7 separate regions of the Homo sapiens genome follow, and regions 1, 3, 4, 5, 6 and 7 are each linked to region 2. The links are contacts of gene promoters, found by promoter capture Hi-C in blood cells and fetal thymus (Javierre and others, 2016). All regions are on one chromosome and are shown on one strand. The core of a region is centred on a gene start or on the middle of the fragment in contact, and the rest is flanking DNA. Distances in the headings are between cores, read along the strand shown.

What was found. The method cuts DNA at HindIII sites, captures the fragments that hold promoters and counts their contacts. A CHiCAGO score of 5 or more calls a contact.
Region 1: a contact is called between a fragment that was not itself captured here and the fragment with the promoter of CFLAR-AS1 in region 2, in 1 of 17 cell types (neutrophils). The highest score is 8.6, in neutrophils.
Region 3: a contact is called between a fragment that was not itself captured here and the fragment with the promoter of CFLAR-AS1 in region 2, in 1 of 17 cell types (neutrophils). The highest score is 7.9, in neutrophils.
Region 4: a fragment that was not itself captured here is called in contact with the fragment with the promoter of CFLAR-AS1 in region 2 in 2 of 17 cell types (non-activated CD4 T cells and naive CD8 T cells); the score reaches 6.1 in non-activated CD4 T cells.
Region 5: a contact is called between a fragment that was not itself captured here and the fragment with the promoter of CFLAR-AS1 in region 2, in 1 of 17 cell types (neutrophils). The highest score is 6.3, in neutrophils.
Region 6: a contact is called between a fragment that was not itself captured here and the fragment with the promoter of CFLAR-AS1 in region 2, in 1 of 17 cell types (neutrophils). The highest score is 5.7, in neutrophils.
Region 7: a fragment that was not itself captured here is called in contact with the fragment with the promoter of CFLAR-AS1 in region 2 in 8 of 17 cell types (neutrophils, monocytes, non-activated CD4 T cells and 5 more); the score reaches 13.0 in neutrophils.

The regions. Positions count from the first base shown.
Region 1 is chr2:200,844,118-200,848,288 of GRCh38, forward strand. It overlaps the pseudogene BICD1P1. Among named protein-coding and RNA genes, the nearest start is that of CLK1, 18 kb to the right of the region's middle. The HindIII fragment of the contact is 285 bases long and covers 1,475-1,759 here.
Region 2 is chr2:201,155,423-201,159,370 of GRCh38, forward strand. CFLAR-AS1 (CFLAR antisense RNA 1) reads right to left here and starts at 2,370. Exons shown (of 7, transcript NR_040030.1): 1 at 2,333-2,370. All of the region lies in intron 8 of CFLAR (CASP8 and FADD like apoptosis regulator), which reads left to right. RefSeq lists enhancers at 2,669-2,748, 2,769-3,098. The HindIII fragment of the contact is 4,248 bases long and covers 656-3,948 here.
Region 3 is chr2:200,820,744-200,824,613 of GRCh38, forward strand. BZW1 (basic leucine zipper and W2 domains 1) reads left to right here. Exons shown (of 12, transcript NM_001207067.2): 11 at 440-562; 12 at 1,404-3,870. The coding sequence ends at 1,435. Among named protein-coding and RNA genes, the nearest start is that of BZW1-AS1, 11 kb to the left of the region's middle. The HindIII fragment of the contact is 2,561 bases long and covers 1,331-3,870 here.
Region 4 is chr2:200,703,420-200,707,294 of GRCh38, forward strand. It overlaps the pseudogene AOX3P-AOX2P and the pseudogene AOX3P. Among named protein-coding and RNA genes, the nearest start is that of LINC01792, 30 kb to the right of the region's middle. The HindIII fragment of the contact is 3,259 bases long and covers 723-3,875 here.
Region 5 is chr2:200,798,382-200,802,480 of GRCh38, forward strand. The region is part of intron 1 of BZW1-AS1 (BZW1 antisense RNA 1); the gene reads right to left. Among named protein-coding and RNA genes, the nearest start is that of BZW1, 11 kb to the right of the region's middle. The HindIII fragment of the contact is 5,757 bases long and covers 1-4,099 here.
Region 6 is chr2:201,452,785-201,456,536 of GRCh38, forward strand. STRADB (STE20 related adaptor beta) reads left to right here. Exons shown (of 12, transcript NM_018571.6): 2 at 1,962-2,068. The coding sequence starts at 2,057. Among named protein-coding and RNA genes, the nearest start is that of STRADB, 2.9 kb to the left of the region's middle. The HindIII fragment of the contact is 3,133 bases long and covers 87-3,219 here.
Region 7 is chr2:200,867,281-200,871,196 of GRCh38, forward strand. It overlaps PPIL3 (peptidylprolyl isomerase like 3), which reads right to left. Exons shown (of 7, transcript NM_130906.3): 7 at 3,627-3,916. Among named protein-coding and RNA genes, the nearest start is that of CLK1, 4.6 kb to the left of the region's middle. The HindIII fragment of the contact is 1,414 bases long and covers 880-2,293 here.

The DNA.
Region 1 (4,171 bases), core at 367-2,866, 310 kb before region 2:
GGCTCTCATCTCCTTTGCAAAACTTCTTGAACCACTACTGCACTGTATGTTTGTTAGCAGTTCCTGGGCCAAATGCGTTGTCAACATTACAAGTTGTCTCCACTGCTATAACCCATTTTGAACCTGCAAGGTGTGGCAGACAGCCCAGGACAACGAGAGGGACTGCAACATCACGGATGGTGACTACTACGAGGTGGACATCAACAGGCAAGATCCTGGCCTGCAGGTACCATGTGGCTGTGGCATTGCCGAGGCTGGCGAGCTCCAAGAGCAGCTCAGGGCACTGCGCAGCAGGCATGAGGCCCGCGAGACCCAGCACGCTGAGGAGAGGGCCTATACAAGGCCAAAGTCCAGGCGCTCACCGCGGAGGTCTCCCTGCTGGAGAAGGCCAGCTGCCAGCACTGGCCCAGCTGGAGAAGTTGCTGAAAGTGAGCAACATTGCCGGTGAGACGCAGGGCCAGCCTGAGTGTGGCCCAGGATGAGCTGGTGATCTTCAGTGAGGAGCTGGCCAACCTCTACCATCACGTGTGCATGTGAAACAACTGGAGGCCCAGCTCTGTCATGGGGGACTACTACCTGAGGGCCAGGACGGGGCCAGCTGCACCAGCCCCATGGGCAACTCCTCCATCCTCCTACCCAGGGGGCTGCTGGCTACAGAGGCAGGCCAAGCACACAGCAGGACCAGGGACATCAGCCCTTCATGTAGCCCCTTGCTGCCATCACCCCTGGGTGACCCATGCTGGGAGCCCATGAATATCTACCACTTGATTCGTATCATCTGCCACCAGATCAAGCACCTGCAGGCAGCTGTGAACCACATAATGGAGCTGTTGTGGCAGCGCATCGCCTCGCAAGAGCTGGGCCCAACCACGGACAAGTTCAAGGAGGCTCTCGTGAAAAAGATCCTCAAGTTGAAGTCGCTGCTCAGCACCAAGTGGGAGCAGCTCACCACGCTGCACACTGTGCTGCAGGCCAGCCAGCAGGCAGCCAAGGTGGCCCTCTCCAAGCTGAAGGGCAAGTAGGAGAAGAAGAAGACCATGGTTACCAAGACCAGGATGAAGCTCTGCAATGAGCTCCAGGTGCTCGCCTCTGAGGAGGACGTGGCCACCTTCTCCTCACTGTGCACCAGTTTGCCACCAGGTGAAATGAGTACATCACAGCTGGAGGAGACGCAGCAGCAGCTGTCAGCTGCAGAGGATGAGAAGGCACTGAACTCACTGCTGTGCATGGTCATCCTGCAGAAGCTGGCACTGACCCAGTGGCTGGAGCTGCTCAAGCTGGACCACACAGACCTGGTGTGACCCCACCAAAGCTGCCCCCAAGGCCAAGCTGGCCACCCCAAGCTTATGTTATGCCTGCACCTGCGCCAGTGACAGGGCCAAGGGCACTGGGCTGACCAACCAGGTGTTCCACATTATAGGTGTAAGCCACCTTGCCTGGCCCATTCCCCGAGTTTTTAATGGGAGGGAAAAAAAGCTTTAATGTTGGTCAGAGTGATGGCTCATGCCTGTAATCCCAACACTTTGTAAGGCCGAGGCAGGAGGATGGCTTGAGCTCAGGAGTTGGAGACCAGCCTGGGCAACATAGCGAGACTGAGACCGTATCTCTACAAAAAAGTAGCGGGACATGGTGGCATGCACCCGTGGTCCCAGCTTCTTGGGAGGCTGAGGTGGGAGGATCACTTGAGACCTGCAAATCAAGATTGCAGTGAGTCATCAACACGCCACTGCACTCAGCCTGGGCAATAGAGTAAAAAAAAAGCTTTAATGTTGAGCATGTCGAAAGCTGCTGCGTGGAAAGGCCTCTGTACAGGCTGAAGATCCTTCCCTGGCTGCCAGGCTTGCCAAGAGCCCTCTAGAAACACGGGGCTCTCTGTTACACGGGGCTCTTTGTTACAATGTTCTTTTTTTATCTGATCAACATGTGCACTTTTGATATTTTGATACTATATTTGCTTCCTTAATTCCTCATGCACTGACAGTCTCAGATGCTGTGGTCTATGCTCATGGGCCTGTCGCTGCCTGCCCACCTCCCTCTGTGTTGGTCTGGTGTCAGCACTAGGCAGAGCTGTGTGCTCTTAGCATGTAGGTCTAGACTGTGGAGATTAGGGCTTTGACCAGAGAATTCACCAGAGAAGGCATCTAGGCCTGAGTTTTTCTTTGTGCAAAATTTTTGTATTACAAATTCAATTTCTTGTTATAGGTCTATTCAAATTTTCTATGTTTTTATTTTTATTTTTTATTTTACTTATTATTATTATTTTGAGGTGGCGTCTCACTCTGTTGCCCAGGATGGAGTGCAATGGCGCAGTCTTGGCTCACTGCAACCTCCACCTCCCAGGTTCAAGTATTTCTCCTGCCTCAGCCTCCCAAGTAGCTGGGATTACAGACATGCACAATGACACCATTCTAATTTTTGTATTTTTAGTAGAGACTGGCTGGTCTTGAACTCTTGACCTCAGGTGATCCGCCTGCCTCGGCCTCCCAAAGTGCTGGGACTACAGGCGTGAGCCACTGCACCCAGGCTTTTTTTTTTTTTTGTGTGTGAGATGAAGTCTCACTCTGTCACCCAGGCTGGAGTACAGTAGTGCAATCTCGGCTCACTGCAACCCACACCTCCCAGGTTCAAGCAATTCTTGTGTCTCAGCCTCCCGAGTAGCTGGGATTACAGGTGTGTGCCACCACGCCTGACTAATTTGTTGTGTTTTTAGTAGAGATGGGGTTTCGCCATGTTGGCCAGGCTGGTCTCGAATTCCTGACCTCATGTGATCAGCCCACCTCAGCCTCCCAAAAGTGGGATTACGGATGTGAGCCACCATGCCCAGCCAGATTTCTTATTTATTTTTGAATCAATGATTGATGAGAAGCAATTGGCATTGGGTCAGAATTATAAATGAAAAAAAAAATTTTTTTTTTTTTTTGGAGACAGAGTCTCGCTCTGTTGCCCAGGCTGGAGTATAGTGGGATGATCTCGGCTCACTGCAGCCTCCGCCTCCTGGGTTCAAGCTATTCTCATGCCTCAGCCTCCCAAGTAGCTGGGACTATAGGCACCCGCCACCACACCCGGCTAATAGGGTTTCACCATGTTTCCCAGGCTGGTCTTGAACTCCTGAGCTCAGGCATTCCACCCACCTCAGTCTCCCAAAGTGCTAGGATTATAGGTGTGAGCCACCATGCCTGGCCAAAATGAACATATTTTTTGATTCAGCTGTTCCAATCCCAAGAACTTATTTCAGTTATATGTTGCTATATGCTAAAGTTCAGTGGCATAAAACAATAACCATGTTATTATGCTCACAGATTCTGTGGTTCAATAAGGGAAGTAACTCAAATGACAGAGGCTTGGAGTCACTAGCATCTGACTTGAGATGACTTGAAGATCAGGGCTTTCCAAAGGTTACTTACATGTAGTCTTTCTATGTGATAGGCTTCTCATAGCATGGTGACTGGATTCTAAAAGGTAGCCCTCCAACAGGGAGCTGCCAGAGAGCAGGTGTTCTATGAAGACCAGATGGAAGTTGCATGACCTTTTATGACCTAGAATGATGTCTCCCATAGTCCATTTTCTGAAGCAGTTACTAGTTCCAAAGAGCATGTGAAGTGGGAGATATTGTTGCAGACATTTCTGGAAAATACAATCTGTCAGACTTTTTACACGAATACTTGTATCTGTTAAGTGTAAAAAGGGGGGCAGAACAATAATTACAGCAATCTCATTCGCAGAGTTTTACAATGTGTACATATGGGCAGGTGCAAATGCATAGAGAGAGAACCAGAAAGTAATGGGATTTTCTTTTTTCTTTTTTGAGACCGAGTTTCGCTCTTGTTGCCCAGGCTGGAGTGCAATGGTGCGATCTCAGCTCACTGCAACCTCTACCTCCTGTGTGCGAGCGAGGGAAGAAAGAAAGAGGGAGAGAGGGAGGGAGGGAGAGAAGGAAGGAAGGAAGGAAAGAAGGAAGGAAAGAAGGAAGGAAGGAAGGGAAAAAGAGATGAAAGAAAGAAAGAGAGAAGGAAAGAAAGAAAGAGACAGAAAAAGAAAGAAAGAAGGAAGGAAAGAGAAAAGAAAACAGAAAAGAAAGGAAAAGGAGTATGAGGAAACGTATGGGCATTGTGGAGATGTTCTTTCTTTTCTTCTTTTTAATCAGCCATATGCTAAGAAAATGTTGTAACTG
Region 2 (3,948 bases), core at 1,120-3,619:
CCCGGCTAATTTTTGTATTTTTGTAGAGATGGGGTTTCACCATGTTGGCCAGGCTAGTCTTGAACTCCTGACCTCAGGTGATCCGCCCGCCTCGGCCTCCCAAAGTGCTGGGATCACGGGGATGAGCCATCGCACCTGGCCAAGAGGAAGTATTTTTTTTTTCTATCCTGCTCTTTCTGAAAAGCTTGAACATTTTTCTGTACTTTCCTTTTCTTTTTTGAGACAGGGTCTTGCTCTATCACCCAGAATGGAGCACAGGGGTACAATCATGGCTCACTGCAGCCTTCACCTCCCGGGCTCAAGCAATCCTCTCACCTCACCCTCCCAAGTAGCTGGAACTACACACAGGCGCCACCACATCCATCTAATTTTTAAAATATTCTGTAGAGACAGGGTCTCACTATGTTGCCCAGGCTGGTCTCAAACTTCTGGGCTGAAGCAATCCTCCCACTTCAGCCTCCTGAGTGGCTGGGACTACAGGCACATGCTATCATGTCTGGCTAACTTTGTTTTTTATAGAGACAGGGTCTTTTGCTGTATTTCCCAGGGCGGTCTTGAACTCCTGGCTTCAAGTGATCTTCCTGCCTTGGCCTCCCAAAGCACTGGGATTATGGCCATGAGCCACCACGTAATCTTTGTTTTATGCGTATTTATAAGCTTTGCTTCCCCAACAAGATTATAAGCTCTTTGATTGAAGTACATCATATATTTGATATGTATTCTCTTGTCCAAGTGTTTCTGTAGGCAATAAGGGGAACTTTGTAAAACAAGAGTTTTCCGGTCAAGTAAATTTGAGAAGCGCTGCCTAATCTCTTCCCCCTCAGAGATTTGCAATGCATATTGACCTATTAAAGGCTCTGAGAATTCTTCCTGCGAAGAAACCTATTTTAGCCTTGTCCACCTTGCATTTCCCAAACACGTTTGACCTCAGAACTCCCTTTTTCACTAAGAATGTTTTGCCCATCTTATGTTTTACCCATGTGCTCTATAGCAGTTAACACTGGGCTTATTAAAGGTACTCAATATGTGATTGTAAATTAACTGGTGAAGCATTCCCTCATTCTTGTTTATTTTATACATTTATTTAATGAAGCCCTTTTCATAGAAATTGTCAAGATAAATGTATCCTCATTTAGATCAAAACAAATTCTAAATTAATGAAGTCATGACATTTTACTGTATTTTGGTTTTTTTGGTTTATCTGTGAAGTCCTCAAACCTGTGAGTAGTGCTGACCCTAGCCTTGAATGAACAGCCCTGTACTAACTGCAAGGCCAGAAGAACCCCTGCCCTTCCCCTCCCCACCCCCCCACATCATTTCCAGAAGTTCTAAAGAACAGTTGAAATTTACGGAGATCAGACTGGGTTGAGTGTGGGATTTCCAGGGTGGGTTCTAGAAGGAGAAGTGGGTCTTCTGTAGTTTGTTGAAATTTTATTTTCCAAACCCAGCCCCCAAGTTTTTCTTCCTCTATTTATGTGCAAGGACAAAACAGTTACTGTCCTACCTACATAGGATATGGACTCTGTCTGCTCTGAGCCCATTTTAGTTTAGAATATAGAGACCTCCCTCCAGGTCCTAAGAGAGAGATTCCATGAGAGATGTGCAACACCATAAGGTTGGTGATTTGTACTTTGAAATGGCTGCCTTTATTTCCTTTAAAGTCAATATCTTATATTTGAATAAACACAGTTTGCAAAGCATCTTTACAGAAATCTCATTGGATCCTCACGGTCACCTTTTTTCTGAGACAGAGTCTCACTCTTTCACCCAGGCTGGAGTGCAGTGGAGCGATCTTGGCTCCTCCACTTCCTGGGCTCGAGTGATCCTCCTTCCTTAGCCTCCCAAGTAGCTGGGACCACAGATGCGTGCCACCATGCCCAGCCAATTTTTGTATTTTTGGTAGAGATGGGGTTTCGCCATGTTGCCCAGGCTGGTCTCAAACTCTGCAGCTCAAGCAATCCACCCGCCTTGGCCTCCCAAAGTGCTGGGATTACAGGTATGAGCCACTGTACCCTGCCCTCACAGTCACCTTTTGAAGAACCTCCTGCTCAAGAGATCCTCCTGCCTCAGCCTCCTGAGTAGCTGTGATGACTACAGGCTTGTACTACCATGCCTGGCTAGTTTTTTTATTTTTTGTAGAGACGGGGTTCCCTGTGATGCCCAGGGTGGTCTCAAACTCCTGAGCTCAAGCCATCCTCCCACCTCAGCCTCCCAAAGTGCTGGGATTGTAGGTGTGAGCCACTGCACCTGGCCAAGCATTAGTTTTAATCTTGTTTTATAGATGAATAAACTGGGGCTGACTCAAACTGACTCAAAGTCACACTGTCATTACCTTTTTGATCCTGTACGTTAGACTGGGCTGTATGCATGTTCTTGCTGGCGCAATAAAGTTGCAAGTGCCAGCTAACAGCCCTTCCCACTCCACCTCACCACCTCATAGAGGAAAATTGTGACGTTAATGGGAAATGTCAGCGGTAATGTCTTCAGGCTGGGCCTGTGGAGTGACTCCCTTGCCACAGGATATTTAAGCAATGCTGTGTCTTGTCTGAGGCTCAGACCTGCTATTCTTATTGGCACTTGGGACCTGCATGGTTTTTGGCTTCACCTCCAGCTTTAGCCATTTTTCTTCTGTTCTTTTAGGTAAGGATTTTCTGCCCCAGACCTCAGATTCCCATTTCCTTCCTAGCTTCTCTGCTGTTATAGCTCAGTCTCTTCCAAGACCATGCAAGATTCAGACCCTAGTAGGAGGAGATGGAGGAACTAGGACTTAAACCCACATCTTGTGATTCCAAGGCTGGTTCCTCTTTTGCCCTGCACCACACAGCTGTCTGCTCACAGTCATGTGACAGGGGCTTCCCCAGCCAGAACCTCCAGGGAGCACAAATAAAGGAAAGAGCTGGAAGGCACAGTACAGCATTTGTTCTGTCCAAGCCTTACATATCAGCATGGGCAGGGAGAATGTGGTGAAGTTTTCTTTCAAGGACTTTGTTTGATAAGGAAGGACATTTATCAGTGAAGAGAGGTTTTGAGGGAAGTGAACCAATCTTGAGATAAGTACACAAAAGAGCTTTGAGTCTGGTGTTTCCCTGTTTGCTTCTGCCCCCTGGAGGAGCAAATACTCCATGATTAGAGACGTGTGAGTCCTTTGGAATAGAATAGCAGTGATGGAACTGGAGTCCTAGTCCAGGTTCTCTCCTTGTTCAGCCTGGATTCAGCACTGGGTATCGAAACAAGCCTGCACCCTCAGAGGAGATGGCTAGGGGACAGTGCGTCCAGGCCTCTTCTACCACACAGAGTTTTCTTTTTTTTATAAAGGGTATACACATTTAAAATTTAATGATACTCCCAAATTGCTCTTCAAAAAGGCTGTGCAAAATTACAGTCCTGATAACAGCTACCCAGAGATCCTGTAACGGCATTTGCCCTCATCATTATTATTATTATTATTATTATTATTATTATTATTTGAATTTGAGACGGAGTTCTGCTCTGTTGCCCAGGCTGGAGTGCAGTGGCGCAATCTTGGCTCACTGCAACCTCTGCCTCCCGGGTTCAAGCAATTCTCCTGTCTCAGCCTCCCTAGTAGCTGGGATTACAGGTGAGCACCACCACGCCTGGCTAATTTTTGTATTTTTAGTAGAGACGGGGTTTCACCATATTGGCCAGACTGGTCTCGAACTCCTGACCTCAGGTGATCTGCCCGTCTCGGCCTCCCAAAGTGCTAGGATTACAGATGTGAGCCACTGGGGCTGGTTGCCCTCACTATTTAATGGGTTATTTGCAACCTGTGAATCATGTCTCCTATTTCCTTGTTAATGATGCTTATTGATTATAGACTTAGGAATATCAGCACCTCCTTTGTAGCTCTTCATTCTTACATGATATAATAATTAATTTTTTTTTTTGAGACAGAGTCTCACTCTGTTGCCCAGGCTGGAGTGCAGTGTC
Region 3 (3,870 bases), core at 1,361-3,860, 330 kb before region 2:
TAGCTCTGGAGTCTTCAGCCTGTGTGAATCCTGCTTCTGTTCATCTTACTCCCCCACCCAGTGTTGACTTTCCGTAGTCCTTCAAGACCAGTTCAGAGTGCTTCTATAGCAACCCCAATTTCAGTTATATTGTTCCCTTTTCTCCTGATCCCAATTTTAGAAACCTGGTCTAAAGTGGCTAGTAAAGACAAGACCTCTGTTGGGAGAAAATCCATTGCAGTTGGTCATAACACTTTGAAATTCTGCACTAATCAGACCAGTCTTGATCCCGTTGAGTGTAGTTGGTATGCGCACATGTATTATTATCTTCCATTTCTCATGGATGTTTTTAGCTTTTCAGCAGTTTGTTTGCTAAGCAGGCATTTGCACATTAGGTGGTGGTTCTAACGCTGAGTAGAGTATATTAAAACTCCCTTAATGCAATGAGTTTTCTTTCCAGCTGAAGTCCTGAGCGAGGAGCCCATTTTGAAGTGGTATAAAGATGCACATGTTGCAAAGGGGAAGAGTGTTTTCCTTGAGCAAATGAAAAAGTTTGTAGAATGGCTCAAAAATGCTGAAGAAGGTAAGGATTTTCCTTTGTGTGGTTTGTTTGGTAAAGCTAATTTTAATGTGGCCATAATATATCTTCACACATGCTTCCTTCTTTCTGATGCCATTTTGTACCTGGAGTAGAGATTTTTGTTATAAGGCAGGTGGCGAAAGCTAGAGTTTAATTATTATAGTATATTTATGGCTCAGCCATAATAGTAAATGTTCTTCATGAAATGGAAAATTTTGAGAATATTTAATGTTTATAAATTTGTGGATTTCTTTTCTTTTTTTTTTTAATTAAAAATATAGAGACAGAGTCTCACTATGTTGCCGATGCTGGTCTTGAACTCCTGGGCTCAAACAACCTTCCTGCCTCAGCCTCACAAAGTACAGGGATTGCAGATGTGATTGCACCCAGCCAAATGTTGGGATTTCCAAGTGAATGCTTTTGAATATCTGCCTCATGTAAATAGGTTATTAATAAAATTCGTTAACAGCTTCAAAGTTACATGGAGGCTGGGTGTGGTGGCTCACGCCTGTAATCCTAGCACTTTGGGAGGCTGAGGCGATCAGGTCATTTGAGGCCAGGAGTATGAGGCCAGCCTGGACAACATGGGAAACCCAGTCTCTACTAAAAATAAAAAATTAGCCAGTTTTGGTGGTGGGCGCCTGTAGTTCCAGCTACTTGGGAAACTGAAGTGGGAGGATCACTTGAACCCGGGAGGCAGAGGTTGCAGTGAGCCAAGAGGGTGCTGCTGCATTCCGGCCTGTGGGACAGAGGGAGACTCTGTCTTAAAGAAGCTTCAAAGTTATAAATGGGAACTTTTGCCTTCTGATACATAATGTTTGACTGTTTTTTTCCCCTTTTCTAGAATCTGAATCTGAAGCTGAAGAAGGTGACTGAATTTTGAAACTACACCCTCAGTAAAGCAAACAGGAGTTGTAGATAAAATGTCATGTCTCATGTGTCCTGGTTCTTACATCTTCCTACCTCCCTGTATCAAGCATGATATAAGGGCTTTCATGGCAAATTTTATTTTAACTGTTTCTATGGTTGCTGGAAATGTTGGGTTTAGTTTCTAAAACCATGTTTTAAGTAGCTACAGGAGCTATAGATTTGAATCTAATGTTGCATTAGTCTTTTCAGTTATCTTCTACCTCCTGTATTTTCTACTGTAATAATGTAATTTAAGGCCTTCCACAATGAACAGTTCACTTTATTCCCTGGGTTTTCTATAAACAGTTTTAAGGATATGATTTGGTTAAAAAATAATTTGTTATAAAAATTCTGTTTGCAAATTAAACTGGAAAAGTATCCAGAGTCTCAAAAGGCAATGATTTGTGAGATAATATGGCATGCCCGGAGCCCTGCTCATCAATGAAAAACCCATATGTAATAATCGAATTCATTTAACATGAATCTTGAGTACGTGGACCATTGCTTGCATGTTAACTTTTTGTTTTGTTTTGTTTTGTTTTGTTTTGCATTTTTAACTCCAGATATCCTAAAGCTCAATTGTTTGGTCTCTGGTTTTCATCCTTAGAGAAGCCATGGAGAACAGACTTGAAAAGTTTAGGAAATCATAATGTGGCAGAGGTGGTGGGAAGAAGAAAGTTGAGCTTTTTCCCCTTGAGAAACTTCTGCATTTAGTTTCTATCTTTCCAGGCAAAACAAATGGGTATTCTTTTCATACAACCATTTTCAAATGAACCTTAGAAAAGTCTTAACATTTAAGGTATTTTATGCACAGAATACACTTAGATTGATAGGAAAGAACTCGTAATGGAGTTTGAGTAAAGAAAATGACTGATGTACTAAACCCAGTAAAAATTGTTGAAAATGTTAAAGGTCAGCATGTTCTAATTGGGAATCTAGATATAGCTTAGATTTCCTATTGGCTTAGAGTATTTGCTATAACAAATGAAGTGCAATGACAATTATATATTCCTACTCGGTCATACTGGACTGGCTTCGTTCTCTTAATATACTCAGTAATGACTCAAGCCTCTGGCTATTAACATACCCTAGTTGCCGTTTTTTAATTGCCATGAGCCAAATACTTCTTGGTATACAATTGATCCATTTATTTTAATGGCTGCCTTTTCATTTTCATCTTTTCTTGCTGCTACCCATCTATGTATGTAGTCATTGGGGGGAAAATGTAGCCACATTTTTTATGGGAAGACTTTGTGTTAAAAGTGAACATTTTGAAGGTTTTTAACTGGTGAAACTAGCCTGGAATAATGCCACCAGAGACTGAGTGGAAATCGCCCCTTTTGAAGGTGCCATTCTTATGAGCCAAAAGTTTGTCATTTAAAAGTTCATTTTGAGGGAATAACATGTAATATAATTTGAAATAAAGGTATAGTAACCTTAAAAAGAACATTATAACTGATTGTTGTGAATGGGGTGAATTTGTTAAAATGAGTAACTTTGATAAAGTTTTTCATGCACAGGCAAAATGTATTCACTAGATTTCTACGTAGTGATCTGCTTTTACTTTGTAATTTGTAGTTCTCAAAAGACTTTTTTTTAAAAAAATAAAGTCCATACTTACACTTAGGCTTTATACATCAGTCTTTTTTTTTTTAAATTCCATGTTAATACCTAGTGGTATTGTATGTTGTGTGTTCAGATGTCTTTACTGTATCTGTATACCATTAAGTAATAATTAGACTCCCAAACTGTAAACCACCTACACAGAATTCTGGTGTAGCTAAAACTACATTAATATTTCTACAACCAATTCATTGCATGTTTCTTCCATACAAAGTGTGCCATTTTATACTGTGTATAGTGAAAAAGTGTGTCATCTTCCAGAACTACATTATTATCTTTGATCGTAGTTTGTTTCTTCATAATGACACTGTAGTGTTTACTTAGTAGAACATTATAGTAAGTGGATATCACTTGTGACAGTAATAGTGTAAAGAAAGGGAATGCTTTATAAAAAGATTGCAGATTCCATTCCATATAAAAAGATTCCATTCTGAATCTTAAGTGGTAATTTTAGAATTCAGGTGCCAGTGCCAGCCTATGGCCTCAAGTATGTAATTCTTAATATAGATGTTAAATTGTACTTTTAATTATGATTGGATAAATGTTTTTTCTAACTGTCAGTTTCTAAGGCTGTCTCCTTAGAAACTAAATGAGTTTTTAGAGCTGGTTGTAAGTTTCTTAGCCTTACTCTGTGAGTTATAGATGTTATTTCATTCTATATATAGATGTTTATTCCATTCTTATTTAAAAAAAAAAACCTCCATATACCAAAAATGCTACAGGATATTTTGAAATAGCATATTTTAGTTAGGGGAAATGCATGTGACCAAGAGGTTGGA
Region 4 (3,875 bases), core at 1,102-3,601, 450 kb before region 2:
TTCCTGTAAACATAAGCAATTATAAATATAAAACATATTTATATTTTCTTTTTTTCAAACTCATAATACAGAATGGGATGGAAAGGTAAAGAAAAGTAATTCACAAGGTAGAGATTCATTAGTTGAGGCTTTTCAGTTTCACAACAATGGTCCTGAGCAACAGCTGCTGGTACGGCAATGCTTTGTAATCACCATGATGAGTTACCAGGGGTTGCTTGCAAGCACCGGTTCTCACAATCAACCTATTACCCAGCTTTGGTTCTTCATAGCACTTATCATATCTGAAATTACAACTGACGTATTCAATTGTCTGGTTATGACTGTCTTCCCCTAAGAGAATGTTGACTTCCTGACAGTGGATAACATGTCTGTGCTTTCAGCCCTTAGAACATGCCTGACACACAGTAGGTGCTCCGATTTGTTTTATGAATTGAGGGAGGCAGAAAAGCAGGCAGGCAGGTCAGCATATACCTATAGTGTCACTTAGGATTATGGTTCAACTAGAGAATGATTCAGTGCCAATCACATGGAACTGGATACAAATTTAGTAGGAAATGATAGAGATAAGAGAGCCAAAGGACGTACGGTGAAAGAGGTGTGGAATTCAAGCTCAACCATAAAGATGGGAAGGACTTGGTGAAGTTAGACAAGGAAACAAGCATGGTGTTAAGCACTGAGGATACAATGACTTAAAGAAAAAGGCCTGGACTTTGCTCTCATGAAGCTTATAATCTGATGGGTAAGACAGGTATCAAAGAAATAAACAAATGAAATGCAAAACTGCAATTGTGACAAGTGCTATGAAAGAGTGGAATGTGATGTTAGAGGAGCAGGTAATAGGGTGACCCAAACTTATCGGACAGTTATGGAAGGCTTCTCTCAGCTGAGATGAAAGGAAGGGGGAGTTACCAGGTAAGGAGGGTGGAACTGCACACACACTGTGCAGGAGACTGGAGGCAGTGCCTGTTGCTGGAGCAGAGAGCAGGGGAGATGGTGGGAGAGGAGCTACCCAGCACCTGATGAGGAAAATCTCTCTTGATCCTTAGAGCAGAGCGCAAAGCATGGCTGTAATGGTTCTGATTGCTTTTCAGGGATTCTGAATCATGTTTACTCTCTTTTCCTCACTTTTCTATATTTACAAGGTAGTCTACAATGAAGATGTGTTATTTAATAATTTAAAAAGGGGTCTTTTATGAAAGAGAGTGGTGGCATTATATGCCTACTCTGGCCTTTCCGACTTACCCTCTTCTTTCCCAGGTTTACAGAATAGTAATGAAGGTGTCTCACTTTCAGAGCTGACCCTGGCCTCAGCCTGGCCTAGGTGAGGGACATCCTGGCTGATGTGGTCCCCAAGTCCCAGAGAACACACAGACACATCATGCTCTCTTGAAGCATCTGAGAACCCTGGCTGGACAATAGATCAGGAACGTGGCAGTAGGTTTTCTGCACCAATTATCTGGGTGTGGGTAGTTTAGTGAGGAAAGGTTGTATCATTCATGATTTCTACCACTTTCTGCTGTATCCATTGGTGTTTTTCACATGATTGAAATATTAGATTGCCTAATTTCAGACCCTTGTGGATAAGCCACTTAAATGCCCAAGTTTTCAGAATAGGGAGCCAGAGAGGAGGTGCTGCCTTCCTGGTCCACCCACCCATGACCTGGTTCATATCTGCAATTGTCTGTTGAGAATCTATCCAGTCCAGAAATGTCTATCTTTAACAGCTCCCTAAGGGGTTCTTTAACTTGTTACTTACAGAGATAACTGATGGGTTCATTGAGAACAATTGACCTGATAACAAATATGAATGAGAACCACACAATTAACTCAACCTTTCAGTGTAATTCTGTATTATTCCAATTATGATATATGATATATAGCTGTAAAATATTGACTACAAATATACATGTAATTATCAACTATAAATAACAGCAGCAGCATTATCCTTGCTAACCCTCAATGCCTCTGTATGAAAGAATCACTGGATTGTTTCTATGGTCCGGTCTGCACCCTCCTCTTTGATTACTGTGGCTTGGTGTTTCTGCTGGCCTCTTCTGGATCCTGTGACATGCACATTCTAGGCTGCCTGATTACAACAGTTCTATCTTTATAGGAGGGAGGGCCTTTAACCAGCTAGGTTCATCTCAGTCATTCTAGCTGCAATTTGTTACTCAAAGTAAATTCTTCAATGATGAAATCCCCATCAATGGCCTTTTCCAGGAGGCAGCTTCCCCAGATCAAAGGTTGTCAGGGTATGTTGCCCACAAGCCATCTCTCCTCTGCCCCCTCTTACATCTGAATCTCTCGGTATATTGTCACCTCTGTGCTCCTTGAATCTGCATTGCAGCCATGGGTAGGTTTTAGTGGTGATATCTTGGCTGGGAGATCAACTTTTCCCACCCTGCAGATGTCGCTGTCTCTGGGATGCTGCCTAGTCTCCTCTTTCAAACCCTCTCTGGCTCAGCTCCTGCCTCCCCCTCCACATCTCACCCCAAACAGCCCTTGCTCCCTTTCTTCTCAGATATACTCTACTAACCCCACCCACCCACCACCAGCTGCAAGCACCTGGGGTTACTCTCCTTAACTATTTCCTATTATCAAGCAAGCTAGACATGCAGAGTTGGAAAATAAATTCTTCATATGTAAATCACTGGAGTCCTCTCCTAATCAGAAATTAGAAGTGGGTGGCATGGAAGTGATTTTCACGATTTGTCTTCACACTTCTGTTTCGCCAATAAATAAAGGGATTAGTGATTCCTCTAAAACATTTTAAGATTTGCAAGAAAATCTCTCATTTATGCTGGCACTTTTTATTCTAATTGCTGAGACTGAAAAGAAATGTCATTCTCTATTTAATTCAGTGTTCATAATAAAAGCCCTGAGGTTGCTGATTAATTTTTATTTTCATCCTTAGGAAGTCAACTGTTAGCAGAATTTCAACTTCTGATCTCATTCCTGCTTTGGGTGTAGGCAATTGCGTACTCAACCTTGCTTCAAAACGTGAGCTACTGAATTCCCTCAGAAGTGCTGATGTCAGTTTTATAAGTGTATTGAATGCAGAATTGTGGAATAATATGAACCTGTTATTTAAATCATTGGTTACCATACTAACTTTTCATTTTGCTGTGGATAGAACTGGAAGCACAGACATTGTCAGGATAGTGGATGAATATGACACACTTTAAGTGATCAGGAAGCATGTGTGAAACCATCTCAATCTGTCTTTCTTCTTATCTAGTCACTATCAAGAGACAAAGCACTTGTAATTGATTAATGTTATAAAGCAAGACTAGAATGTAATGAAGCATAGAGTTTTATTTTAGAGGCAGTTTTATTTTAACAGCTTTATGGCTTCCTTTTTGTCTCGGACTTGTTTGCTTAGGTTCTAAAGAGATCATTTACATTTTTAAAAATTTATACTTTGGTACTTTGAAGGAAAAAGCATACTTTTTTCTACCCTCACACACCACTCATCCCAGAACACTTCTGATGTCAGATGTGTGTGGGATTTTTCCTCACACACCAAGCAGTTCTCCAGTGGACACCAAGTTAATTTAACTCAATTCTGACACTCCCTACCTGGAGACAGTGTCAGGCCCCACAGGTTGAGGGCTCAGTCATACAAGGCTGCCCTCCTTTTCAGATGCCAATCACAAATCCAGGCCTCTGCAACTTCTGACCTATAGGATAGAAATTGGGGGCTCCCATGACCAAACCATAACCAAACATTAGGTTTGGTTAATGTTCTAGAGTGACTCGCAGATCTCAGGGAAACACTTTACCTACAGTTACCCATTTATTATGCAGGATATTACAAAGGATACAGGTTAACAGCCAGATGGAAAAGATGTATAGAGGAAGGGATGTGGGAAGGG
Region 5 (4,099 bases), core at 943-3,442, 360 kb before region 2:
GGGCCCACCTTAATCCAGTAAGACCTCATCTTAGCTTAATCAATTATACTTGCAAAGACTTTATTTCCAAATAAGGCCACTTCTGAGGTTCCAGGTAGACATGAATTTGGGGGGATGCTATTCAACCCACTCTACCCATAAACCTTGCTGAGGCTAATGGATAGTTTTGGGGTAGAAGTGACTCTCTCTCCTTTATGCCCCTATTGTGTCTGGTTCTTACATAACACACAATCGATTTGTCTGCATGTGCATCCTTTCTTTCTAGATGAGCCACTGGCTGATGACAGGGATTGTGTTTTACTCATCTCTTACCACAGGGTCCATCTCAAACTGATACTTGCATATGTTTGATTAAGGAAGAGCCAATGAATGTGCTCTATGACAACAAAAGTACAGATGAAACCTACACTGTGTAACTCAGATACCCATGAGCCAGGAGACCTAAGGAAGGTAAAAAGAAAGAACCTACAGTTATTTGGCAAAGAAACCAGGCTTCACTTTTTTTTGGATATAAATCTGCTGGAGCCACTATTTATTTTACTTGCATGTATTAAGCAAAATTTTCCAAAACTTGGAAACAATGCAAAAAAGAAAAAAAAATACTGTGAGCCGTTTCTTTTCTTTTAGAAACAGGGTCTCACTCTGTCATCCAGGCTGGAGTGCCCTAGTACAATCATGGCTCACTGCAGCCTCAAACTTCTGGGCTCAAGCAATCCTCCCATCTTGGCCTCCAGAGTAGCTAGGACTACAGGACTGTGCCACCAGGCCTGGCTAATTTTTTAATGTTTTGTACAGACAGGATCTCCCAATATTGCCCAGGCTGGTTTCAAAGTCCTGGCCTCAAGCGAACCTCCCCACTCAGATAACTTGTCAATGTTATCTTCCAGCACTGTCTAATAAACCCATTACAGAGTTATCTGACGCTCTAGGGCTGCCCTGTCTATATGGTAGCCACCAGCCACATGTGGCTATGTACATTTAATTTTTAATAATTTAAATAAAAAATTCAGTTCCCTAGTTTCCTTAGCTACATTTCAAGTACTGTATTCAGTAACCACATGCAGCTACTGGGTACCCTATTAAACAGCACAGAAAAGACCAGTATCCATCACTCCAGAAAGTTATATAGATGGGTTTGCTCTAGGGAAATGTAACTTTATATATCTGCCATTTATTAGGGCCCAGACCACATTAGATCATGTGGCATGTAGAATGACAGCACGCCAAAGACATCCATGTCCTAATCCCTAGAAACTGTGACTATGTAGGTTACATGGCAAAGGGAAATGAATGTTGCAGTTGGAATTAGGTTTGCTAATCAGGTATCCTTAGAATAAAGAGATTATTCTGGCTTATTTCAATAGGCCCTATGTAATCACAAGAATCCTTAAATGTGGCTGGGGGCAGTGGCTTACGCCTGTAATCCCAACACTTTGGGAGGCCGAGGCGGGCGGATCACGAGGTCAGGAGATCGAGACCATCCTGGCTAATGTGGTGAAACCCCGTCTCTACTAAAAATACAAAAAATTAGCCAGGCATGGGGGCGGGTGCCTGTAGTCCCAGCTACTTGGAAGGCTGAGGCAAGAGAATGGCGTGAACCCGGGAGGCGGAGCTTGCAGTGAGCTGAGATTGTGCCACTGCACTCCAGCCTGGGCAACAGAGCGAGACTCCATCTCAAATAAAAAAGAATCCTTAAATGTGGAAAAGGGAGGCAGGAGAGTTGGTGTTAGAGTAGCTGGCTTTAAAGATGTCAGGGGCCCAAGCCAAGGAACGCAGGCAGTCTCTGGAAGCTGGCGAAGGTGATGAAACACATTCTCATCTAGAGTCTCCGAGTAGAATGCAGCCCTGCTGACACCTTGATTTTAGCCCAGTGAGACCCACTTTGGAATTCTGACCTTCAGAACTGTAAGATAATCAATTCGTGTTGTTTTATGCCACCAGGTTTAGGATAATTTGTTGTAGCTGTAATAGGAAATAATACAGGTGTTAACTTGCAAAACATTGATAAATTACAAAGAATTGCTGTATAGTTGAAAAGAAATCCCCCAAGGTTTCAGTTTTATTGCCCTTAGGACATTAACCAGTTTTGTTTTGTTGTTTATTTGGGTTTTTTTCCCCCTAATCTGCAATCTTATTCTGATGTTCTTTCTTCCATATTGGTTTCTCACATCTTCCTTTGAACTTGCTTTATTACACTCGCTCCCTCATTGACTATATCTTTGAAATCTGCTCACTACATATTGTATAGGAGTCACTATATATTGTACAGCTTTAAGGTCACAAGTGGTTTTTGGTTCCATGAGTGAATCGTATAGTGGTGAAGTCTGAAACTTTAGTGTACCCATCACCCAAACAGTGTACATTGTACCTAATAGGTAGTTTTTCATCCATCACCCCTCTCCCACACTCCCTCCTTGGTTTATATGCTTAAAGTTAGATGCTGACATGCAACCAACAAAGGAAAAACAAACAAACACAGGACTCTAAGGTTCTTCCGTATGTAAGAAGAGCCTACATAATTTATACAGCGATTAACCTGATGAAATAGTTTATTTACAATTTAAATGAATAAATTTCATATTCTACAACACATATAATCTATTGACTAAATGTAACTAATGATGAACCTCCATACAAACAACCCCACTAAAAAGTGGGCAAAGGACATAAACAGACACTTTTCAAAAGACATACAAGTGGCCAAAAAGCATATGAAAAACAGCTCAATATCACTGATTAGAGAAATGCAAATCGAAACCACAATGAGATACCATCTCACACCAGTCAGAATAGCTATTATTAAAAACTCAAAAAATAACAGCTGCTGGCAAGGTTGCAGAAAAAAGGGAATGCTTACACACTCTTGGTGGGAGTGTAAATTAGTTCAACCATTGTGGAAAGCAGAGTGGCGATTCCTCAAAGAGCTAAAAACAGAACTACCATTTGACCCAGCAATCCCATTACATTCCCAAAGGAATATAAATCATTCTACCATAAAGATACATGCACACAAATATTCACTGCAGCACTATTCACAATAGCAAAGACATGGAATCAACCTAATACCTGATATGGTCTGGCTTTGTGTCCCCACCCACATCTCATCTCAAATTGTAATCCCCACGTGTTGGAAGAGGGGCCTGGTGGGAGGTAATTGGATCATGGGGTAGATTTCCCTCTTGCTGTTCTGTTGATAGTGAATTCTCATGAGATCTGGTTGTTTGAAAGTGTGTAGCACCTCCCCCTTTGTGCTATCTCTCTCCTGCTGCCATGTAAGATGTGCCTTGCTTCCCCTTTGCCTTCTGCCATGATTGTAAATTTCCTGTGGCCTCCTAGCCATGCTTCCTATACAGCCTACAGCACTGTAAGTTAATTAAACCTCTTTTCTTCATAAATTACCCAATCTCAGGTAGTTCTTTATAGTAGTATGAGAACAGACTAATACAATTCCCATCAATGAGAAACTGAATAAGAAACTGTGGTATATATACACCATGGAATACTATGCAGCAATAAAAAAAGAACAAGATCATGTCTTTTGCAGGAACATGAAGGGAGATGGAGGCCATTATCCTTAGCAAACTAATGCAGGAAGAGAAAACCAAATACTGCATGTTCTCACTTATAAGTGGGAGCTAAATGATGAGAACTCATGGACACAAATAGGGGAACAATAGACACTGGGGCCTACTTGAGGGTGGAGGATTGGAAAAGGGAGAGAATCAGAAAAAATAACTATTAGGTACTAGGCGTAGCGCCTGGATGACAAAATAACCTGTACAACAAAGCCCTATGATATGAGTTTACCTATATAACAAACCTGCACATGGACCCCCTCAACCTAAAATAAAAGTTGAAAAACATACAAACAACAAAGACCACAAAATAAAAAGTGTTGGCCAGGACATGGAGAAATTGGAACACTTGTGTACTGCTGATGGGAATGTAAAATGGTACAGCTGCAGTGGAAAACAGTATGGTAGTTCCTCAAAAATCAAAAATTAGATTGCCCAATGATTCAGCAACTCCATTTCTTTTTTCTTTTTCTTTTCTTTTTTTTTTTTTTTTTTTTTGCCCCAGGATGAAGTCTTATTCTGTG
Region 6 (3,752 bases), core at 403-2,902, 300 kb after region 2:
TTGGTTTCTACAGAAAGTGTTAATCTTTCAGATCAAAGTCTTCACATGAACCATTCTATTATGGAACAAACTGAAATTACTTATAAAGCTTTATCGTAATTAGCGTTTTGGATACAAGTGTAAGGGACTGCACTGATGTACTTGTGAATACGAAATATAAGTCTCTTAAATATGACTTTTTTTTAAGAAAGGGTTTATATTCATATCTCGTGAAAGAGCATGCCGGAGAAAATTATAATAACAGCAAATCCCCCACCCCCACCCCTTTGCTGGGTGCAGCTGCTGCCTTGACCTCAAAATGTCTTGTAAAATTATCTCTTAATAGTCTGGTGTATCTAAGGCAAAAATCTCTGAGATTAAACCACCCCATAGGGACAACCCTTTTATTACTAACAATTCTTACCAGATTGTGTCTGTTTCTTCTGAGCTTTTCTGAAAAAGAGAAAAAAATAGACAACGTAATGGAGTTTCACATTATTAAGACAAAATCAGTAACAACTTGCTGACATTGAGTGAAAAAAGCAGGATACAAAATCATGATAACCAGAAAATTTGGTTAATCATGACATCCATAACCCTTCTGCTTGTGGGAAGGTCAGCTACAAGTGGCCAGGGTCTTGTCTGCCCTGATTACCAGCGGGTGTCCACAGTGCCTGACCCATGGTAACCACTCATTAAACACTTGTGTAATGATTACTTGGCTGTTAACAGATTAACAGTGTATTGACTATGATGTGTAGTTTCTTCATTTACTTGGATATCTCCTTAGAATAGATCACTCCGGGGAATTTTACTGGGTCAAAAAGTATGAATATTTTCATGGTTATTGAAACATTTGACAACCTGCTTTCCAAATAAACCTTATAGTTTTGTACTGCCATCAGTACATTTGAGTGTACCTTTCAAAGCATAGTTCAAGCTGATACAGTGTTTGCTAATTAGGGGCACTTTGAGATGTAACTCATTTGATTTCATTCACCCTGGAAGGTTGGCAGGGCAGGCATTGCTTTCCTCCTTTTGCAGCACAGCAAACTCCAGTGCTTTAAATTGACGGTAATGAATGGTAGGTGGCTAAATGATCACAGCCTTTCAGGTCCGTCTTCCTCCCAATCTCTACCTTTGGTTCATAGTGAACATCCTGAATAAATTCACCTCTTTCTTTAGCAATAAAATTGGATATTGCTTTATGGTTTTTATGGTTTACAAAATCTTCCCTTTCTCATCCTGCTCACATATTTGTAGATGGGTTCATCAAATTTGGGGAGTTGAAATAATGAAGCACAATTTAGATGAAAGAGATGATGTTGGTTAGATGTAAAGGGATGCTCTGAACCCACAAACTTACAAGATTGCCACCCTTTCTATTAGTAAAGGTCTGGAAACCGTGGATGGTGCTTTTGTATCTCCTTGAATTAATTTCCTAGTCTGTTATTCTGATTCTTTCCCATATTTGCTGGTCAGGGACCCCAAATGATTTAATACGTAATTAATCCAATAAGAAAGGGCTTTGGAAAGTCTCAAAGTTTAGTTGTAATATGTGGAACCATTGAAAATTCTTGGGGTTTATTGTAAGTGACACTGTTTATATCAAAAGTGGGCCAAAAATTGGTTTTCTACATTGCTTTCAAATTTGCTCAGCGTTCTTTAAAAAACAAACAAAAAACAGTATAGAAAAGATAGGGAAGGAGAAATGCAAACATATTGAGGCTTTGGAAATATTCAGGACTTCTTTTTGTTTTCACTCTGCTTCTTGGTTGTGATGTCAGATCACAAATAATGTTCAGTAAAAAATAAATGCTCTTTAAAGATACTTTTCAGGAATGTCTCCTTGTGTCAAGGAGTAGCTGCCTAAATATTGGGTATCAGGGAATAGCTGCCTAAATATTGGATGGGTTTAAGGCAACTGGTTCTTTAAGGAACTTTTATGTGAATCTAAATTATTTTGCTTTTGTTTTTTATAGTAGGATATATCTGCATCTTGAAAGGAAGATAAAACAAAAGCCTTCTTTGGAATAGATGGATTTTTGTCACTTTCTGTGTGAACTAAAGTGATTCAATGTCTCTTTTGGTAAGTTTTTGTAAATATAGATCTGATTTTGTTCTGTCAGAGTAGTTGGATGTTAATGCCAAGCCATAATAAAAGGCATATTCTGATGGGATATTCTTATGCTCTGAGATATTGTTTTGACCTGATTGACTTCTGGACTTGAGAAATGAATTACATTCTCATTGAGTTTTTCTTTCTTTCATAAAGAACTTCTCGTATACTTCAATATGTTCATTATTCTAATCTTTTGTCCCATATCTACTTTTTCTCATAGGTGTTATACTTTGATATGCCACCCACACCAGTTAGCTATGCCTTATCTTTTAAATCTTTCAGAAATTCCTTTTACAAATTTCCATCTGACCAAAAGCAAGCCAAACAGTATTAAAAATAACCCCTTTGACTTAACCGAAATAAAATCATTTGGATCAATGTATATATGAGGTATAGCTGCCAACTGGTTTTCTATTTATATTTAGATCCGTGGTATCTACTTTAGATTAAGTAGCTTGAGGACTTTCATCCTGTTTTATACATAATAATAATATTTGAATAGGGAATACTTATATTAAAATGTGGTTTTTAAAAAAGTAATGAGTAGACCACGTGTAGTGGCTCACACCTGTAATCCCAGCATTTTTAGGGGCCAAGGCTAGAGAATCAGTTGAACCCAGGAGTTCAACACCAGCCTAGGCAACATAGTGAGATCCTGTCTGTATAAAATATTAGCCAGACGTAGTGTCATATGCCTGTAGTCTCAGCTACTCAGAGGGTTAAGGTGGGAGGATCCCTTGAACAAGGGATCAAGGCTGCAGTGAACTGTGATCATGCCATTGCATTCCAGCCTGGGTGATAGAGGGAGATCCTGTCTCAAAAAAAAAAAAGGATGAGTATATTTGTATGATGATTTATAGTTTACAAATACTTTCATATATTTCTTTCATAGTTTCAAATTGTGTAAGTTTAGCAGGGCAGGTGGCATTATCCTCATTTTCAGTTTGTCCAAGATTGCAAAAAGTTGGAGCCAGACTCATACCTGCCAATCTATTCTATCAATTACCAAGGCTGAGAGGCAGAACTATGAAGTTAGAAGACTGGATTGTTAGTAATATGGAAAATACATAACACAGTTACTTACATGTTTAAAGTAAAGCATTACCACTTGAAAGAGAAGCTTTATATATCTGGAAAATACACGGAGGTGAAATGTTTTATTCTGTAAAGGAGGGATCAGCAAGCTTTTCTGTAAAGGCCAGATAGTATTTACAGACCCTTTGGTCTTTGTTACAGCTACTTTTCTGCTGAAATACTAGCATGAAAGCAGCCATAGGCAATATATAAATGAATGAATGAATGTATCTGTGTTCCAGTAAAACTTTACTCACAAAAACAGGTGGTGGGTCAGATTTGGCTCATGGACCATAGTTTGCCGACCCTTACTCTAAAGGATTACTTAAGATTTACAATTTTATATCAATTTTTAAGTTGGAAAAGATGTGAAAGGGCATTCAGTCTATTCCCTTCATTTGATAGGCGAGAATTGTGAGATTCAAAGGGCTGTGTGTTGCCCAGGGCTTTCAAATTTTGGAAAAAGAATATCTTAGCCTATTATTCCATAATTATGGGTTTTGTGAAAAATAATAGAATGTGATAATGGGTGATTTATATCGTTAATGATTGTAACTTTAAATCACATTTTTCTGCA
Region 7 (3,916 bases), core at 337-2,836, 290 kb before region 2:
ATTTATCTTTCAAGTCGCCCGCTTGGTCCTCTTCCAAGCGTACTTCCCTTTCTTTCATTCCTCCTCTAAAGCTTTTTAATAAACTTTCACTCTTGCTCTAAAACGTGCCTCACCCTCTCCTTCTGCCCCTCAGTCGAATTCTTTCTTCTGAGGAGGCAAGAATTGAGGTTGCTGCAGACCTGTACGGATACAGATTCGCTGCTAGTAAAAAGCACCTCAGTTTAGTGGAAGATATAAATGGTGACAAGAGGATAGCTGTAAGCTAACTCCAAACTAGTCAAGAAAGAATCAAAACATTAATTAGACCAGCCATTGGAAGAAATGAGACAAACCAAGAACTGATGCCAAGACAAACATTTTGAGACGGAGTTTTGCTCTTGTCACCCAGGCTGGAGTCCAACGGCACGATCTCAGCTCACCGCAACCGCCGCCTCCCGGGGTTCAAACAATTCTCCTGCCTCAGCCTCCCGAGTAGCTGGGATTATAGGCATGTGCCACCACGCCCAGCTAATTTTGTATTTTTAATAGAGACAGGTTTTCTGTATGTTGGTCAGGCTGGTCTCGAACTCCCAACCTCAGGTGATCTGCCCGCCTTGGCCTCCCAAAGGGCTGGAATTACAGGCATGAGCCACTACGCTCGGCTGGTATAAGTTTTAGGAACACCCAAATCCAACCACTGTGATCTAGGCAGTGGGCAGAATATGGTCTTGATGAAATCAGTGGTAGAACCCAATGAATGGCTTGATGAGGTGAGAGCCCTGTGGTGGACATGAATGTTAGGACAGCAGCTTCTACTTACTTACTACATGCCAGAAGCTTTACACACATTTAACCCTCACAATTGTCTTCTGAGGTATTATTTATGGATGAGAATACTAAAGCTTGAAGATGTTAACTTGCTTAAAGTTACACTGTAAGGGACACAGCTGTGATTCAAACACAGACCAGAACTCCACAAACTGGTGCCTTTAACTAGTTCATTGCATTTTTCAAATGGATATTCTGTAAAGCTCCACTCTTCAATATTTTCAGAGATATGCCTTATGTTCTCACTTGTAATATAACCAAGTATCCTAGCCTTGAAATGCATTTTAAAGTTTTTTTTTTCCTTTTTTTTTTGAGACAGAAGTCTCTGTTTCCACGCTGGAGTGCAGTGGTGCAATCTCGGCTCACTGCGACCTCTGCCTCCCAGGTTCAAGCAATTCTCCTGCCTCAGCCTCTCAAGTAGCTGGGACTACAGGCGCGTGCCACCACGGCCAGCTAATTTTTGTATTTTTAGTAGAGACGGGGTTTCACCATGTTGGCCAGGATGGTCTCGATCTCTTGACCTCATGATCCGCCTGCCTCAGCCTCCCAAAGTGCTGGGATTACAGGCGTGAGCCACCGTGCCTGGCCCTTTCTTTCTTAATTTCAGAATGTAGTCTTGTTAAAACCGTTTCCCTCCCTTTCCCGCCTCACACTCCCTTATACTATGCACATTTATCTAACTGTACACTTGTTAAACTTACACTATACACTCTTATCTATAGGGTCTTAACTCTCTTGCCCAGGCTGGAGTCCAGTGGCACGACCATGGATCACTGCAGTCTCTACTTCCCTAGCTCAAGCAATCCTCCCACCTCAGCCTTTTAAGTAGCTGGGGCTACCACATCCGGCTTTTTTTTTTTTTTTTTTTTTTTTTCAATTTTTAGTAGATTCAAGGTCTCACTACGTTGCCCAGGCCGATCTAAAACTCCTGGGCTCAGGTGATCCTCCCACCTTGGCCTCCCCAAAGTGCTGCGATTATAGGTGTGAGCCACTGTGCCTGGCCCATCAAGGGCTAATCATGACATATACCAGGCTTGGAGACCCAGCTGCAAAATTCCAGAGATTACCTTAAGGTGGTTAGTCAACAACCCAGCCATTGTTGAGATGATGCCAGCCCCCACTCCAGGTGGACCACAACTCAAGATAGCCACTACAGCAAGCCACAGAGATCTGAAACCCTGCACCACTCCCGCATGCCTCCCATTCTAAGTTCCCTTTTTAAGCACCTCTCCCCAGCCTAAAGTTCAAAATGATTTCTTTAAGGTACTAGCTTTGGCCATTTCCCCACTGCTAGCTCTGGAATAAAGTCACTTTCCTTTTCCTGCATCTCCTCCTTGTTGTTGACTTTGCAAGTGGCGTGCAGCCCAGCCTGCATTCAGTTACAATAAATGGGAGCTAAATCTTGGATTCACATGGACAAAAAGATGGGAACAGTGGACACTGGGGACTCCAAAAAAGGAGGAAGGGGCAGGGGCAAGGGCTGAAAAGCTTCCTTTTGGGCACTATGTTCACTGTCTGGGTGACAGGATCAGTAGAAGCCCAAACCTCAGCACCATGCATTATACACTTGTAACAAACCTGCACATGTACCTGCTGAATCTAAAATTAAAAAAAAAAAAGATATGCCTTAAAAAATGTCCATGAGCAGGCCGGGTGTGGTGGCTCACGCCTGTAATCCCAGCACTTTGGGCGGCCAAGGTGGACGGATCACCTGAGGTCAGGAGCTCACGACCAGCCTGGCCAACATGGTGAAACCCTGTCTCTACTAAAAACACAAAAAAACAATAGCTAGGCATGGTGGCAGATGCCTGTAATCCCAGCTACTCGGGAGGCTGAGGCAGGAGAATCACTTGAGCCCGGGAGGCGGAGGTTGCAGTGAGACGAGATTGTGCCATTGCACTCCAGCCTGAGTGACAAGAGTGAGACTATGTCTCAAAAAAAAAAAAAAAAGTCCATGAGCAAATCAGTTGGGAAATGTTGAGTGTTTACTGTATTCCAAGACATCTTTTTTTTTTTTTTTTTTTTGAGATGGAGTCTCCCACTGTCACCCAGGCTGGAGTGCAATGGCTCGATCTTGGCTCACTACAACCTCTGCCTCCCGGGTTCAAGTGATTCTCCTGCCTCAGCCTCCCAAGTAGCTGGGACTACAGGCACCCGCCACCATGCCCAGCTAATTTTTTATATTTTTAGTAGAGACAGGGTTTCACCATGTTAGCCAGGATGGTCTTGATCTCCTGATCTCGTGATCTGCCCATCTTGGCCTCCCAAAGTGCTGGGATTATAGGCGTCAGCCACCACACTCGGCCTCCAGGACCTCTGAGAGCCTTTACTGTAAACCTAAAGATCACACCTGTAATCCCAGCACTTTGGGAGGCCGAGGTGGGCAGATCATGAGGTCAAAAGATCAAGACCATCCTGGCCAACATGGTCTCTGTAAACCCCGTCTCTACTGAAAAAAAAAATACAAAAAGTAGCTGGGCATGGTGGTGTGCACCTGTAGTCCCAGCTACTTGGGAGGCTGAGGCAGGAGAATCACTTGAACCTGGGAGGCAGGGGTTGCAGTGACCCGCTGCACTCCAGCCCGGGTAAAAGAGCAAGACTCCGTCTCAAAAAGAAAAAAAAAAAAATCAGAGAAAATAGCAAATGGATTGGCTGGCCTTTCCAGACTAACTTTTTATCCTGTCCCTCCTCTTTCTAACTGTATAAAGTGAATAATTAATGGTAGAGCTCTTACCGTTAGTATCAGTTTCAGGAATACCCAAATTTTCAGATTTGGGGATACTTGCATATACATAATAAGATATCTTGGAGATGAGACCCAAATTTAAACATGAAGTTCATTTACGTTTCATATATACCTTATACACATAGCCTGAAGGTAATTTTACACAATATTTTAATTAATTTGTCCTACGATTTAATTCTTTAAAACTTTTTAAATTTTATTATAAAATAACACTTCCAGGATACGGACTTGCTGTGGGAGGAATATGTAATCAGGCCACTCAAAAATGCCTGCACTTGAGGCTGAGCATTTAAAAATGAATGTTCATATGTAACAAAAATTAAATGATGTATTTTTTGTATTAAAATTAAAGAAATATGTTGG